Regions from separate parts of the Homo sapiens genome. Here region 1 is linked to region 2. The links are contacts of gene promoters, found by promoter capture Hi-C in human tissues and cell types (Jung and others, 2019). All regions are on one chromosome and are shown on one strand. The core of a region is centred on a gene start or on the middle of the fragment in contact, and the rest is flanking DNA. Distances in the headings are between cores, read along the strand shown.

Evidence for each region. Contacts are between HindIII fragments. The study calls those that stand out against the background at their distance.
Region 1: a fragment that was not itself captured here is called in contact with the fragment with the promoter of SREBF2 in region 2 in 1 of the 25 tissues and cell types used here (spleen).

The regions. Positions count from the first base shown.
Region 1 is chr22:42,246,733-42,253,683 of GRCh38, forward strand. The region is part of intron 1 of TCF20 (transcription factor 20); the gene reads right to left. Among named protein-coding and RNA genes, the nearest start is that of TCF20, 20 kb to the right of the region's middle. The HindIII fragment of the contact is 5,575 bases long and covers 1-4,927 here.
Region 2 is chr22:41,827,449-41,834,882 of GRCh38, forward strand. SREBF2 (sterol regulatory element binding transcription factor 2) reads left to right here and starts at 5,657. Exons shown (of 19, transcript NM_004599.4): 1 at 5,657-5,910. The coding sequence starts at 5,823. CCDC134 (coiled-coil domain containing 134) reads left to right here. Exons shown (of 7, transcript NM_024821.5): 7 at 1-4,716. SREBF2-AS1 (SREBF2 antisense RNA 1) reads right to left here and starts at 7,217. Exons shown (of 2, transcript NR_157279.2): 1 at 6,995-7,217; 2 at 33-6,532. RefSeq lists enhancers at 3,104-3,644, 3,645-4,184, 5,011-5,520, 5,126-5,782 and silencers at 5,561-5,900, 5,961-6,350. The HindIII fragment of the contact is 7,421 bases long and covers 1-6,853 here.

The DNA of each region.
Region 1 (6,951 bases), core at 890-3,389, 420 kb after region 2:
TGAGGCAGGCAGATCACGAGGTCAGGAGTTTGAGACCAGCCTGGCCAACATGGTGAAACGCCATCTCTACCAAAAATACAAAAATTAGCCAGGCGTGGTGGCGGGTGCCTGTAATCCCAGCTACTTGGGAGGCTGATGCAGGAGAACTGCTTGAACCTGGGAAGCAGGGGTTGCAGTGAGCCGAGATTGCGCCACTGCACTCCAGCCTGGGGGACAGAGCAAGACTCTGTCTCAAAAAATTAAAAAAAAAAAAAAAAGGAAAAAAGAAAGGTATAATAAAAAGCAAAAAGCAAAGATTAAAGGTGCACCAGAAAATTACAAACGTCATGAAGGAAACATCCAGTTAAGGGAATGTTAGATTTCATGGAGAAAAGTAACATTTGAGAAAGGCCTTGAAATATAACTATCTCAAAAGATGGAGAACAGGCTGCACGCGGTGGCTCATACCTGTGATCCCAGCACTTTGGGAGGCCGAGGCAGGTGGATCACCTGAGGTCAGGAGTTAGAGACCAGCCTGGTCAACATGGTGAAATCCCATCTCTACTAAAAATATAAGAATTTGCTTGGCGTGGTGGCAGGCGCCTGTAATCCCAGCTACTCAGGAGGCTGAGGCAGGAGAATGGCATGAACCCGGGAGGCGGAGCTTGCAGTGAGCCGAGATGGTGCCACTGCACTCCAGCCTGGGTGATAGAGCGAGACTCCATCTCAAAAAAAAAAAAAAAAAAGATAAGATGGAGAACAGAAAAGAGGACACGGACCCAGACCTGGAAATAAAGGCACCTCTGGGGACACCGAGCTGCAGCAGAGGATACAACTGGGGAAACCAGGAGATGTGGTTAGAGAGGCAGGGCAGGGTCCTACCATGGAACCCTGAAGACCAAGGCAAGGTGTCTAAATTTAACTCAGTACACAAATGAAAAGGATACGACAAGAGCTACCTTTCAGAAGATTTTCTGGCAGTAGTTGGGAAGACACTAGACCAGGGACTGGGGAAGAAAGGTTACTATTCACGAAGCTACAAGAGCTCAGGCAGGTCCAGCACCATGCTCATTTAAACCACTACCAATCTCTACTTCCACAAGCCTTGACCTGTCTCCTACTTGACTGGTTCCTCCGCATCTCTTCAAGACACCTCTCTTCAATTTCCTCACTTAAAATCACTAACTAGAAAGAAAAAATTAATAGTCTGTTCTACAGAAGTGACTTAAAAAGTGAATATTGTAGACTGATACAACCTTCTGGTTCATAGCCTTTACAACAAATATGTTGGCTCCTACTGTGTGTCAGGCACTACTCTAGGAAACATGGATGCAGACAGGGATGGAGTAGGCAAAGTTTCCATCCCATGGTGCTTACATTTTGTGAAGGAAACAGATACAAGACAAGACTGTCAGATAATTGCTGTGAAGGGAGAACAGGGCTGAGGGAGAGAGCACGTACTCATGTGGGCGCTGCCTGGGCTCAGGTGGGCAGGGAAAGCCTGTCAGTGTGGGGAGAAAGCAGCAGCCACATGGTGTACATTTTTACAAAGTATACATTTTACACTAAAAGGGAGAAACAGGTTTTGAAGCCACATAGAGTTGCATGCCAGCCCTGGCTCTATCACTTGGTGGCTGAGGAACCTCTTCCAAATGAATGAATCTCTCTTCAGTCTGTTTCTTTATCCCCGTTTTACAGATAAAATACTGACTTTATTGGGTTATTCTGAGAGAATTAAATAATGAATATAAAACGTGCACTGTGCCTGGTACTGGGTAAGGGATCTGTAAATATTAACTACTGATTTACTACATCAGTGATTAAATATACATAGAAATTATTTTGCTGCTATATCTAAACACTAGATTTAGCAAAAACTGTCTGCAATCAGTACCAATCATAATCCCAAATGCCATAATCCTGAATGTTAAAATCCCAAAAGACTAAAGTCTAAAAATCCCTAATGTTTAAAACCACAACCCCAAAAGATTAAAATCCCAAATGATGAAATCCCAAAAGCCGAATTTTGGGGCAGGGAATTTGCATAGTTTTGGTTGTACACAATAGTTACACCATGCTAGGTGGAACTATGACCTTGCTATTGTCATTATCTGGAAATTAAGTATGGTTTAAGGAGATGCCTATGGGTACCAAGTTGCCGAGGATAGATTTGTGGACTTAATTTTAGCTATCAACTTGACAGGAACACCTAGAAACCTGGTAAAGCACTGTGTTGTGTGTGTGTCTGTGAGGATGTTTTCAGAGATTAGTGTGCGAGTCTGAGTAGGCAAGGAGAGCCCTCTATGTTGGTGGGTATCATCCAATCAGCCAGGAGCCCAGGGAGTACACAGAAGGTGAATTGCTGAGAGCTAGAACAGACTTTTCTTCTGCTGCCTTGGACATCAGAACTCCAGGCTTGCCAGCCTTTGGACTCCAGGACTTAACCAGTGGCCCCCTGAATTCTGAGGCTTTTTGACCTTGGACCGAGAGATAACACCATTAGCTTCCCTGGTTCTGAGGCCTTTGGATTTGGACTGAGGTATGCTACTGGCATCCCAGGGTCTCAAGCCTGCAGATGATCTGTCATGGGACTTCTCAGCCACCATTAATCATATGAGCCAATTCCCCTAATAAATTCCCTCATATCTATACACATATCCTATTGGTTCTGTCTCCCTAGGGAACCCTGACTAATGCAGATTTGGTGTTGGGGAAGCTGAGTATCAGTTCTTCTTACTTTATTCTTTACAGCACAATTGAAGAGATCTGTGAAACTCTTCCCTCGCAAAAAGGCTCTGATAAGTGTACACGGCTACTTAATGGCGAAAGATAAAAGTTTAAAAGCTAATTATCACTGGTGCTGCAAAAGCAGAAATTGCAACGGCCAGGCAATAATCAGGCTTTCAAATAGACAGTATATACTTACAAAATTTGTGGATCACAACCACTTTGCAAATAAAACTGGAGCAAGTGCTTTGAAGATCGCAGAAGTGAAAATACAGGCAAAAAATACAAGAAATCTCCCCTGCCAAATTATTCAATGGTGTATTATTTCTGCTCCTTCACACATAGTGCCAATTTGCTATGCTATATATTTTATCTTCACATCATTTCTAATACTGGAGATATAAATTGTGTAGAGACTTTTGGAGAGTTCTAATTAATTCTATGCATTTTTTTTTTGCAAACTGAACTCCACAGAAGTGCATTATCACAACACTGACTTCATGTGTAAGCTCTGGCTGTGTTCATCAAAACGTAGAAGCCAGGTGTGGTGGAGCACCTGTAGTCAGTCCCGGCTACTAGGGAGGCTGAGGTAGGAGGATCACTTGAGGCCAGGAGTTTGAGGCTGAAGTGCACTATGATCATGCCTGTGAATAGTCACTGCACTCCAGCATGGGCAACATAGCTAGAAGACTATGGTCTCTTTAAAAAAAGTTGAAACTGGCCAGGCACGGTGGCTCACATCTGTAATCCCAGCACTTGTGAGGCCAAGGCGGGCAGATCACCCAAGGTCAGGAGTTCGAGGCCAGCCTGGCCAATACGGTGAAATCCTGTCTCTACAAAAATTAATAATACAAAAATTAGCCAGGCGTGGTGGCGGGGCGCCTGTAATCCCAGCTACTTGGAAGGCTGAGGCAGGAAAATCGCCTGAACCCAGGAGACAAAGGTTGCAGTGAGCCGAGACCACACCATTGCACTTCAGCCTCAGCAACAACAGTGAAACTCCATCTCAAAAAAAAAAAAAAAAAAAAAAGGTGAACCTTCAATGAGATGTCCTTTTTTTATACTGTTTTTGTGAAAGATAAAATTCAACAATATCTCTGCTCTTCAGGAGACTGCACACACAGTGATGACCCATCCTTGTTTTTACTACCTCATCAAAAGACCTAGTTTGTCCATCATGGTATTTCAGAGGACCACAGTTACAAAATGTAACACCCATGCAACTACGGTTAGTATACTGAGTGATTAAACTTGCAAAATACATTTGTTACTATTTTATTGTGTAAAGTGGTGTACTAGGCTGTTCCTGCATTGCTATGAAGGAATACTTAAAAGAAAAGAGATTTAATTGGCTTACAGTTCTGCAGGCTGTACAGGAGGCATAGTGGCACCTGCTTCCAGGAAGGCCTCAGGAAGCTTCCAATCATGGCAGAAGGCAAAGGGGGAACAGGCACATCACATGATGAGGACTGAGCAAGAGAGAGTGTGAGGTGCCACACTTTTAAAACAGCCAGATCTCGCGAGAAGTCGCTCACCGTCTCGAGGACAGCATCAAGGGGATGGTACTAAACCATTCATGAAAAATCCACCCACATAATCCAATCACCTCCTACCAGCCTCCACTTCCAATATTGGGGATTACAATTCAACATGAGATTTGGGCAGGGACACATATCCAAACTATATTAAGTGGCCTATGAAGTGTTGTCATGTTTTTGTTTCTCAAATAAATCCCCTTTAAAAAAGGTAAATAAGTGGTTTTTCTGTTTGTTTATTGAAGACAAAGTCTTGCTCTGTTGCCCAGACAGCGCCATCACAGCTCACTCCAACCTCTGCCTCCCAGACCCAAGAGATCCTCCCACCTCAGTCTCCCAAGTAGCTGGACTATAGGTGCACGCTAGCTTGCTAATTTTTGTATTTTTTTGTAGAGACAGGGTTTCTCCACGTTGCCCAGGCTGATCTTGAACTCCTGGGCTCAAGCAATCTGCCCACCTTGGCTTCCCAAAATACTGAGATTACAGGTGTGAGACTCTGTACCTGGCCAAACAAGTGTCTTTTTTTTTTTTTTTTTTTTTTTTTTTTGAGACAGAATCTCACTCTGTCACCCAGGTTGGAGTACAGTGGCATGATCTCAGCTCACTGCAACCTCCGCCTCCCATGTTCAAGTGATTCTCGTGCCTCAGCATCCCGAGTAGCGGGGACTACAGGCACTTGCAACCATGCCTAGATAATTTTTATATTTTTAGTAGAGACGGGGTTTTGCCATGTTGGCCAGGCTGGTCTCAAACTCCTGAGCTCAAGTGATCTGCCCACCTAGGCCTCTCAACATGCTGGGATTACAGGAGTGAGCCACCGCACCTGGCCCAAATAAGTATTTTTTAAATAATGTTTTAAAATTATTTTTTCCAGAATTATATTGTTTGGATTTCGATATTTTGGGATTTCAGTATTTGGGATTATGGCATCAAGAACTGTGTCTTTTAGGCCAGGCGCAGTGGCTCATGCCTGTAATCCCAGCACTTCGGGAGGCTGAGGTGGGCAGATCACCTGAGGTCGGGAGTTTGAGACCAGCCTGGCCAACGTGGCAAAACCCTGCCAAGGTGGGCAGATCACCTGAGGTCAGGAGTTCAAGACCAGCCTGGGCAACATGGCGAAACTCTGTCTCTACCTGTATTTTTTTTTGTAAAAATACAAAAAAATTAGCCGGGTGTGGTGGCACGCACCTATAATCCCAGCTACTTGGGAGGCTCAGGCAGGAGAATCACTTGAACCCAAGAGACAGAGGTTGCAGTGAGCCGAGCACCACTGCACTCCAGCCTGGGCGACAGAACGAAAGTCCATCTCAAAAAAAAAAAGAAAAAAATAAAAAAAAGAACTGTCTCTTTCAGAATTATGGCCTAAACCCGTCTGAAACAACTATTCAAGAAGTCTTTGGGAGAGCTAACACCTACAAACATAAACTTCGGTAATATTTTATAAAATATTCTTAAAAATCACCTTTATCCACACACAAGACAGTTTTAAAAGCTTTGGAGACTGAGTCCAGCTCTGTCGCCAGGCTGGAGTGCAGTGGCACATCTCGACTCACTGCAACCTCCACCTCCCAGGTTTAAGCGATTCTCCCGCCTCAGCCTCCCAAGTAGCTGGGATTACAGGCACGCACCACCATGCCCAGCTAATTTTTGTATTTTTAGTAGAGACGGGGCTTCACCTTGTTGGCCAGGATGGTCTTAATTTCCTGACCTCATGATCCGCTGCTCACCTCGGCCTCCCAAAATGTTGGGATTACAGGTGTGAGCCACGGTGCCCAGCCTTTAAAAGCTTTTTTAACTGAAACACTAGAGTAACAATCTTGGCATTTTTAAACGTATATAATTATCCCTATATATAAAACTATTTTAACAAAAATAACTATTTTCATACAACCATTTTAACTCTAGAATAAAAATACTGTTATAGTGAGATTTTTTCAAATATTTAATTTAGTAGAGTCAAATGTTTAACAAAAATAAAATATTATGAAGTATATAGTATATATTTTAATAAAAGGCTAATAAACTGAATCAGGTCAATAAGAGAAGCAAAATACTGGTTTATAAAACTAAGGCCTTCAAGTGACAGGGGGCCATAGGAAAAAAACAACAAAACAAAAACTAAGGCTTTATTCATTTATAAGTGGCAAAAGAAAAAATTTCCTATTTCCCTATTCCCTAATGATTTAATGTAAACTAAAGCAAAGAGAATGCATTAGTTCACTCTTCCTTAGAAACCTACACCATCTACTAATTTGCTAATGAAATCAGATACATGAGTTCTACATGATCAGTGTTGTGACTTCACATTAGTAGAGACGCTACTTGAGTTGCACTGTCACTGGGTTCCAGAAAGAGAATTTCCTAACGAATCACTAAGAAAGCTTCTTCAACAGATACAGGACGGGCTAGTATCAAAATATAGAAAAAAAAATAAAGTAGAGATAATGCTTTGTCTGTTGAAAAATATTTATTAAACTTCTCTAAAAGGGATTACATAAATATATTATCTCAACTACTATAATTAGATGTCAATTCCAATTCCTTAGTAATATTTTCAAGATTTACCCCTTAAATATAGGCGTATGAAAAACCAAAAGCATCAACAAAAGTTTTATTTATATAAAAAGATTTATGCTGGAATGTTAAAATCTAATATTTTGATTTTGAAAGCAAGTTGATTTTTTAAAAACCCTGAAAACAGTAGAGTGAA
Region 2 (7,434 bases), core at 4,407-6,906:
AACAAAGAATTGGGCAAAATGCACAAAGCAAGGAAGGAATGAAGGGTTTTACTGAGAATGAAAGTATACTCCACAGCATGGGAGAGGGCCTGAGCATAGGGACTCAAGGGGCCCGTTACAGAATTTTTGGGAGTAAATACCCACTAGAGGATTCCATTGGTTACTTGAGGTACACCCTATGTAAATGGAAAGGATGAAGTAAATTTACAAATTCATTTACAGCATATACCCTATGGGGAGGATATTCCCTGTTATAGCTGAAGCGTGAATTGGCCTTATGTTCCCTGCCTCCAGACCCTATTTTCCTGCATCAACGGGAAAGGGTCAGATTCACTGGCTCAGCTGTTTAACCTGTCCTGGTGCCAGCAGCTGGAGCTGGGTGTCAGGACCAGCCCGCAAGCTCTTCCCTGCCGGAAGGACCAGGCCAGTCGCTGTCCTTTTCATGCTAGAGAGTGGTTGTGGTTGCTGACTTAGCAGAGAAGGTGCTTGGCTTTCCCCTTAACTGGAGAAAAAACTTTCTAAGAACCAGGCCTGGTTGGCAGCAGACCTAGCTTTCTTGGGGTGGCAGGGAGGCTAAAGCATACCTCAGGACAGTCAGTGGTGGGTCCAGCTTCGGCTGGAGGTTCTTTCTACTGAATAACTTCTACGGGCTCTGTCATTAGCAGGATTTGTATAATTTGAAGCAGAGCTGGGCAACTGCAGAGCAATGGGGAAGCCAGCCCAGTGTGGTGGCAAGACCTGGGCAACTTGGGACCAGCCTGGGCTGTCTCTTGCCAGCTGTTGTTATCAGAACCAGGCTCTTCACACTCAGATCCTTGGGCCCCCCATCTCAGAATGCCCAGTGGTTGAAAGGATGAAACCTGGAATTTAAGTGACTTCTCAGTGATGTGTGCCCTTCTCTGACGGTTCCTTGTTCATCCCATGTATTTACTGACTGCCTGCTATATATGCAGAGCCAAAGAGTGGGGCCTGGTCTTGAACTATCTCCTCATCTGCCCCTTCTGGCACCTCCTTCCTCCTGGGCTCTTTCCTCTAATACCGTCATCCTCTCTCCAACCTGGTTAATCCTGTCCTTTCTGCCCTCAAATGGGCACCTTCAAAGAAACAAATAGAACTACTCCACTCGCTCCCTCTCTCCCTCCCTTTACTGCCACTATTGATTGTTATAGTCACTTGCTCCAGGAAGTCCACTTGCTGAGTCTTACTGCAGACAGAGCCCACCCCCTGAGCTGTAAAGGCCCTAGGGCACATGTTTGTCCAGCTGCCTCTTGCAGCTGGGATTGTTAGGTCACTATAGCGCTACCAACTGCATATACCACTGTGGGAGTCGTGCTGGTGGCGGTAGTGGTCACAGGTACCAGGGGCAGCAGTGAAGGGGTGGCTCTAATGCCAAGTCCAGTGACCAGTGCCAGGGTGCCCAGTGGTGGCAACAGTGGTGTTTTCAGTGTGATCTTGGACATTGCTCCTGTCTACTCAGCTGCTAGTCTGTGAGCTCCCTGATATCCTTTAAGACAGCGTTTTCCAGCAGCGGCACTATTAACGTTTGGGGCTAGGTAATCGTTGGGTGTGTGAGTGTGAAGAGGGCTGTCCTGTGTGTTGTAGGCTATTTTAGCAGCATCCCGGCCTCTCCCTGCCAGGTGCCTGTAGCAGTCCCCCAGTTACGACAACCAAAAATGTGTCCAGACATTGCCAGATGTCCACTGGGAGGGAAAACCTCTCTGGTCCACAGCCCTTCTCCTTATTCCAGTCCCACATCTTCCTCCCCTTCCCCATCACTGTCCTCAGAGAGATGCTGTTGACAGCTCCTTGAGGTGATTCTCTCAGGCTTGTTGTTGTAGTTCTCTGCTGTCAAGTCTGAGCTGACTCTCTCTTCCGGATTCTTCTTTCCTCACCTGCCCCCGTTTGCATGAAGTTTTTTATGGAGCTGTTTCTATTTTCTTTTTGGGCAGCCATACTCTCTAAGACCTAAAAGCTGAATACTCGCCCGGTTACTACCTGATAATTCTCATCGCTTATGTTTCCAAAACCAAACTGGTTATTTCCCTCTCTAACCCCATCTCTGTGTCAAACAGTGGAGTACATGCTTTTGGTTAATCCAATTGGAAGGCTTCCTAGAGGAAGTAATATCTGAACTGAATCCTGAAAGATTAGGGGAAGAGGAAGAAAAGGACAGGTGCTGTGGGAAAAAGGGGAAAGTGTCAGAGGAAGTAAATGAAAAACCATATACAAAATTATCTTCTGTGACCCGTAGCACATGCCCAATCCATGGTAGATATCGAAACATAGTGGTTACCCAGTCTAATCCATCCCTTTTCTTTCTTTCTTTCTTTTTTTTCTTTTTTTTTGAGACAAGTCTCACTTTGTTGCCTGCCTGGAGTGCAGTGGTGCGATCTCGGCTCACTGCAACCCCCGCCTCCCGGGTTCAAGTGATTCTTCTGCCTCAGCCTCCTGAGTAGCTAGGACTACAGGTGCTTGCCACCATGACCAGCTAATTTTTGTATTTTCAGTAGAGATGGGTTTCACCATATTGGCCAGGATGGTCTCGATCTCTTGACTTCGTGATCTGCCTGCCTCGGCCTCCTAAAGTGCTGGGATTACAGGCGTAAGCAACCGTGCCCGGCTGTCCATCTCTTTTCAGATGAAGAGCTCAGGTTCTGAGGAGTGACTTGTCAAAAGCTGTTCTACCTCTCAGAGCCAGCCCTTGTCCTCCTGCTAGCCAGAGCAAGGTACCACCTGGAAGAGATGTTCAGTTACATGGGATCCAGGGCCAGAGGGAAAATATCAGTGCTTCCTGAGGTTCGGGTCCAGCCACCCTTCTTCCACCATTTCTACTGAGCCTTCAGTTGTACCCCTTCAGTCCACTTGGCGAGGCATCACGCCCTCTGGGCAGGCTCAGTGGGGAACTATGGGAGCAGGTGCTGTGTGCCACCTCTGGAGGGGGTCACTGAGGTTCTGGGTTGTGGGGGGTGCCCTGGGCCAGAGTGAGTTGTATGGGAGTTGTTGCTGAATCCCCCCAGAGTACCAGTCACACACCAGTGTGAGGGGCCTTGCAAGAGCCACTGGGCAGCACAGTTGAAGGTGGCACCTTCCTGCTCAGTGCTGTGTCCAGAGCAGGGTTTAGTTTTCTGTGTCTTTCAGGGTGAGACTGGTGTATTCTATACCAGCCTCCCTGTGTGTGAACAATGACGAGAACAATGTTGTCTTGCTTTCCCAAAAAATAAGACACTATCTATTTCTCATTAGTTATACACGTTCATTATAAAACGTAATTTAAGCAATACTGAAATGCCAAAAAGAAAGTAAAATTCACTCCAAAAGTAAAATTCACCCCAAATCTCACTACTCCTGTAACTATGTCTGACAGCCAGCTGTTGGGTCTTCCATCGTTTTTAACCTTCAGGTGAGCACACAGATCCTTATTTTTTCTTTTCTTTTCTTTTTTTTTTTTTTTTTTTTTTGAGACGCAGTCTCCTGTTGCCCAGGCTGGAGTGCAATGGCGCGATCTCTGCTCACCGTAACTTCTGCCTCCCGGGTTCAAGCAAGTCTCCTGCCTCAGCTTCCTGAGTAGCTGGGATTACAGGCATGCACCATCACGCCTGGCTAATTTTTGTATTTTTAGTAGAGACGGGGTTTCACCAAGCTGGCCAAGCTGGTCTCGAACTCCCGACCTCAGGCAATCCGCCCACCTCAGCCTCCCAAAGTGCTGGGATTACAGGCGTGAGCCACCTTGCCCGGACTCTCTTTGTATTTTTTCTTTCTTTTTTTTGAGACAGAGTCTTGCTCTGTCTCCCAGGCTGGAGTGCAGCGACATGATCTCAGCTCACTGCAGCCTCTATCTCCCAGGTTCCGGCAGTTCTCCTACCGGTTAGCTGGGATTACAGGCATGCGCCACCACACCCGGCTAATTTTTGTATTTTTAGTAGAGACGGGGTTTCACCATGTTGGTCAGGCTGGTCTCCAACTCCTGACCTCAAATGATCTGCACACCTCGGCCTCCTAAAGTGCTGGAATTACCGGTGTGAGCCACCGCGCCTGGCCAGATCCTTATTTTTTCAATTGCAATACAGCAGTATGCAAGGCACTTACTGTATGCCAAAGCTTATGCCGAGAGCTGGCTGCCAGCAGCTCCTCCTGCCTCGAGGCCTTTGTCCATGTCATCATTTCCCCTTTGGCTGTAACAGCTGCAGTTCTCTCATAATTTTAGGTTTCATCTTAAATGTCACTTCTTCAGAGGCTTCTTGACAGCACAAGTCAGGGCCCTTGTTAGTTTCATCACATCCATTACCTTTCCTTGATCACTTGTACCATCATCTGTAATTTATTTTTATGTTTAATACGGGTGTGGGATTTCTGATTTTTTTTTTTGCTAGACTGGAAGCTCTCAGAGGGCAGGAACCATTTGTTTCCCTGCCACAGAGATGTTCAATAAATATTGTCAATTGAATGTGCAAATAATCTCACTTAACCACAGCTATGAGGGATGCTATTTTATCCCCATTTTAGAGATGACTAAACTGAGGCTTAGAACAATTAACCCAAGGTCACAGTGAATTAGTGGATCCATGTGTCTGCCTCCACACAGCCTGTGTGTTCTTAATTATTGATCACTAAGCAACAGCTGCCTCTCACAAACTGGCAGGAAACTTCAACTTTTCCCTTTTATCAATATATTGTGAACGCCTTTTCTTGCTAATAAATATACATTTGTGTGCGTAATTTTTAATGATCCCATGGTATTCCATCGTGTGGATGTAATTTACATATTCATTTCCTTATTCTCACTTCTTCCTAGTTACAGCACTTCTTTAAGCACTTGTAATTTTTATTCCTTTGGATAAATTCCTAGAAGTTTACAACACGACCAGCTGCAAGATGGGGCAGTGAGGTGCTTGAAGGAGTGGGTGGGCTGCACTTCAGAATCCCGGTGGAACTTTTTCAAAAAACTCGTGCCCGGGGCCCCCCTCTCAGGAGGCCGTCGGTGGGCCTGGGCACTGGCGTGGTTTTCAGGTCCTCAGTGGTTCCGAGGTGCCAGAGATTGAGGACCACTGGAGTAAGCGCGAGGTCACGGCGGGTGCAAAGCAGAAGACGTAAAATCCTGACCGCCCTGGGACAATCTGCAACCTTGTCAAGCCTCCGTGCCCGCCTTTGTAAGGAGGCTGGGAGAAGCGGGACTTGGATGACCCGGACTCCCGTCCCGAGCGCTGGGGTCCAGGTTTGACTCCGCTGGCTTTCTCAGGCGGGCAGGGCGGGGGTAGGCAGCTGGGAAGATGACGTAATGTGCTCCCAGCCAGGCCTGGAGGCGGCCAGCGGTCGCAGGTGGAGGGTGGCCTGTTAACCCTTCACTCCCAGGCCAGTGGACGGACTTGCGTGTGGCGCAGATCCAACGGAGAAGGCAGCGGCTCCTTTAAACAAGGCGGAGAAGGTTAAGATGATGACCGGACGGCTACTCCAGGCATTCGCTCCGAGGCCGCGGGGGGAGGGACCTCACTATGCAAATCTGAGCTGCTGATCGATGACGCGCCATCACCCCACGCACCGCTTCGCTCGCCCATTGGCTGAGATGAGCCTGGTCCCATTGACAACAAACAGGGGGGCGCGCGGCCTGGAGGCGGGGCCGCAGGGGGCGCGGGCTGGGGCGGGGGAATCCCGCCCCGCCCTTTCTGTGCGGCGCCCGGGCGCAACGCAAACATGGCGGCGGGTGGCACCCGTCGGTGAGGCGGTGCCGGGCGGGGGTTGTCGGGTGTCATGGGCGGTGGCGACGGCACCGCCCCCGCGTCTCCCTGAGCGGGACGGCAGGGGGGGCTTCTGCGCTGAGCCGGGCGATGGACGACAGCGGCGAGCTGGGTGGTCTGGAGACCATGGAGACCCTCACGGAGCTGGGCGACGAGCTGACCCTGGGAGACATCGACGGTGAGTGGTGGGTGGGTGGGAGTGCGGGGGCCGCGCGGGGAGGAAGGGGTTACGGCGGCGCGCCCGGGTGCGCGTGCGCCCACCCCCCGACAGCCCCGGTTCGCGCGGGAAGAACCCCGTGCGCACGGTGCCCCCGGCGGTCCTCAACCCTTCCGGCGCTGCGAGCGTGAGCCCGACCCAGCTGCGCCGCTCCGGGAGGCCGTGGGATCTGGGGCGCCGCGGGGCCGAAAGCGGCGCGAGGGTCGCGGGTTCCAGAGCGCGGGGCTAGGGACGTCGCGGGGGCGTCTCAGGGAGCGGCCTAAGGAGAGCGCGTGGCCGCCGCCTCCCTCGCGCGCCCACACGCGGTTTCCGTGGTCCGCTCTCCCGCCGCCCGCGACCGCGCGTCGCACCTGTCACTCCCTTCCTGGCCGCGGGGACGTCTTTGGGATTCCCGGGGCCCAGCCCCCAGTCTCCGCGCCCCGAATCCCTGGGCTTCTCAGGATTGACCGACGGCCAGGTCGCCGGGTGCTCCGCGAAACTTTGGGCAGCGACTGCAGAAGCAAGTTGCTGATGAAGAGAGCAGTGGCGGCGGAGTGTGGACACATCTCTCCGGGATGGAGACCCGGGCGCTCCTGCTGTCACGCTGCAAGGGGAATTGAGCAGAAGAAATTTTGAGTTGTGGCCCCTCGGGTACGGGCTGGGGAGCGGGTGGCCTTTGTTCCAGCGCCTTAACAGCGGAGTGGAAGAGCTGGTAGGAGCCCAGGGATCCACTCTTAAAATACTAATTTTGCGACCACGGGAACAACGATTTGGAGAGGGTCAGCGGCTTGCTCAAGGTCACCCAGCTGGTTAGAGCCTAGTTCTTGCAGTTCCTTGGCCAGTATTGGTTTTTTTATACCCCTCCTTTCAAGAAAGAGTCCAGTTGACTAGGCTAGTAATCTTATTAACTGGATAGTTGCACTCTTATGTTTAGGCCCCAAAATGCTTTGTATTATTTCACTTCTTCCTCACAACAATCCTGTGAGATACTCTTATTACCTCTATTTTAATACGGTAATTAAAGAAGCCGAGGCCAGGAGATGTTGACTTATCTAAGGCCACTCACCTTAGAGAGCTTAGGCAGAAACACAGGTGCATTGTACTTTTCAGTTTTCAGAATGCTTTCATGTCCAGGATCTCACTACAGCCTTGCAGGCATGTATGATGGCTACATCCCCGTTGTGCAGATGAAGAAGCAGAAGCAGCAGAAGATTCTCTTTTGGGGGAAGAGATAAATGCAGCAGCTAATTGAAAAGGATCTGTTTGCCATTTTCCCATTTTGCTTTTGTAATATTTCTCCCCTTGGTTTGTCCTTGATTTCCATTTTGGTCATGTGGGCAGTGTGATAAGACCCTTAATTGAAGCCCCAGTTCTAACCACAGACTCTTTGCTAAGTGCTTCTAAATACAGAAATGGGTTAACAAATGGGGGATGGGGTAGGTGGGGGTTGGGAACATAGCAAGGGCAGCTAACATGTTTTGAGAACTTCTGTGCCAGACGGTGTTA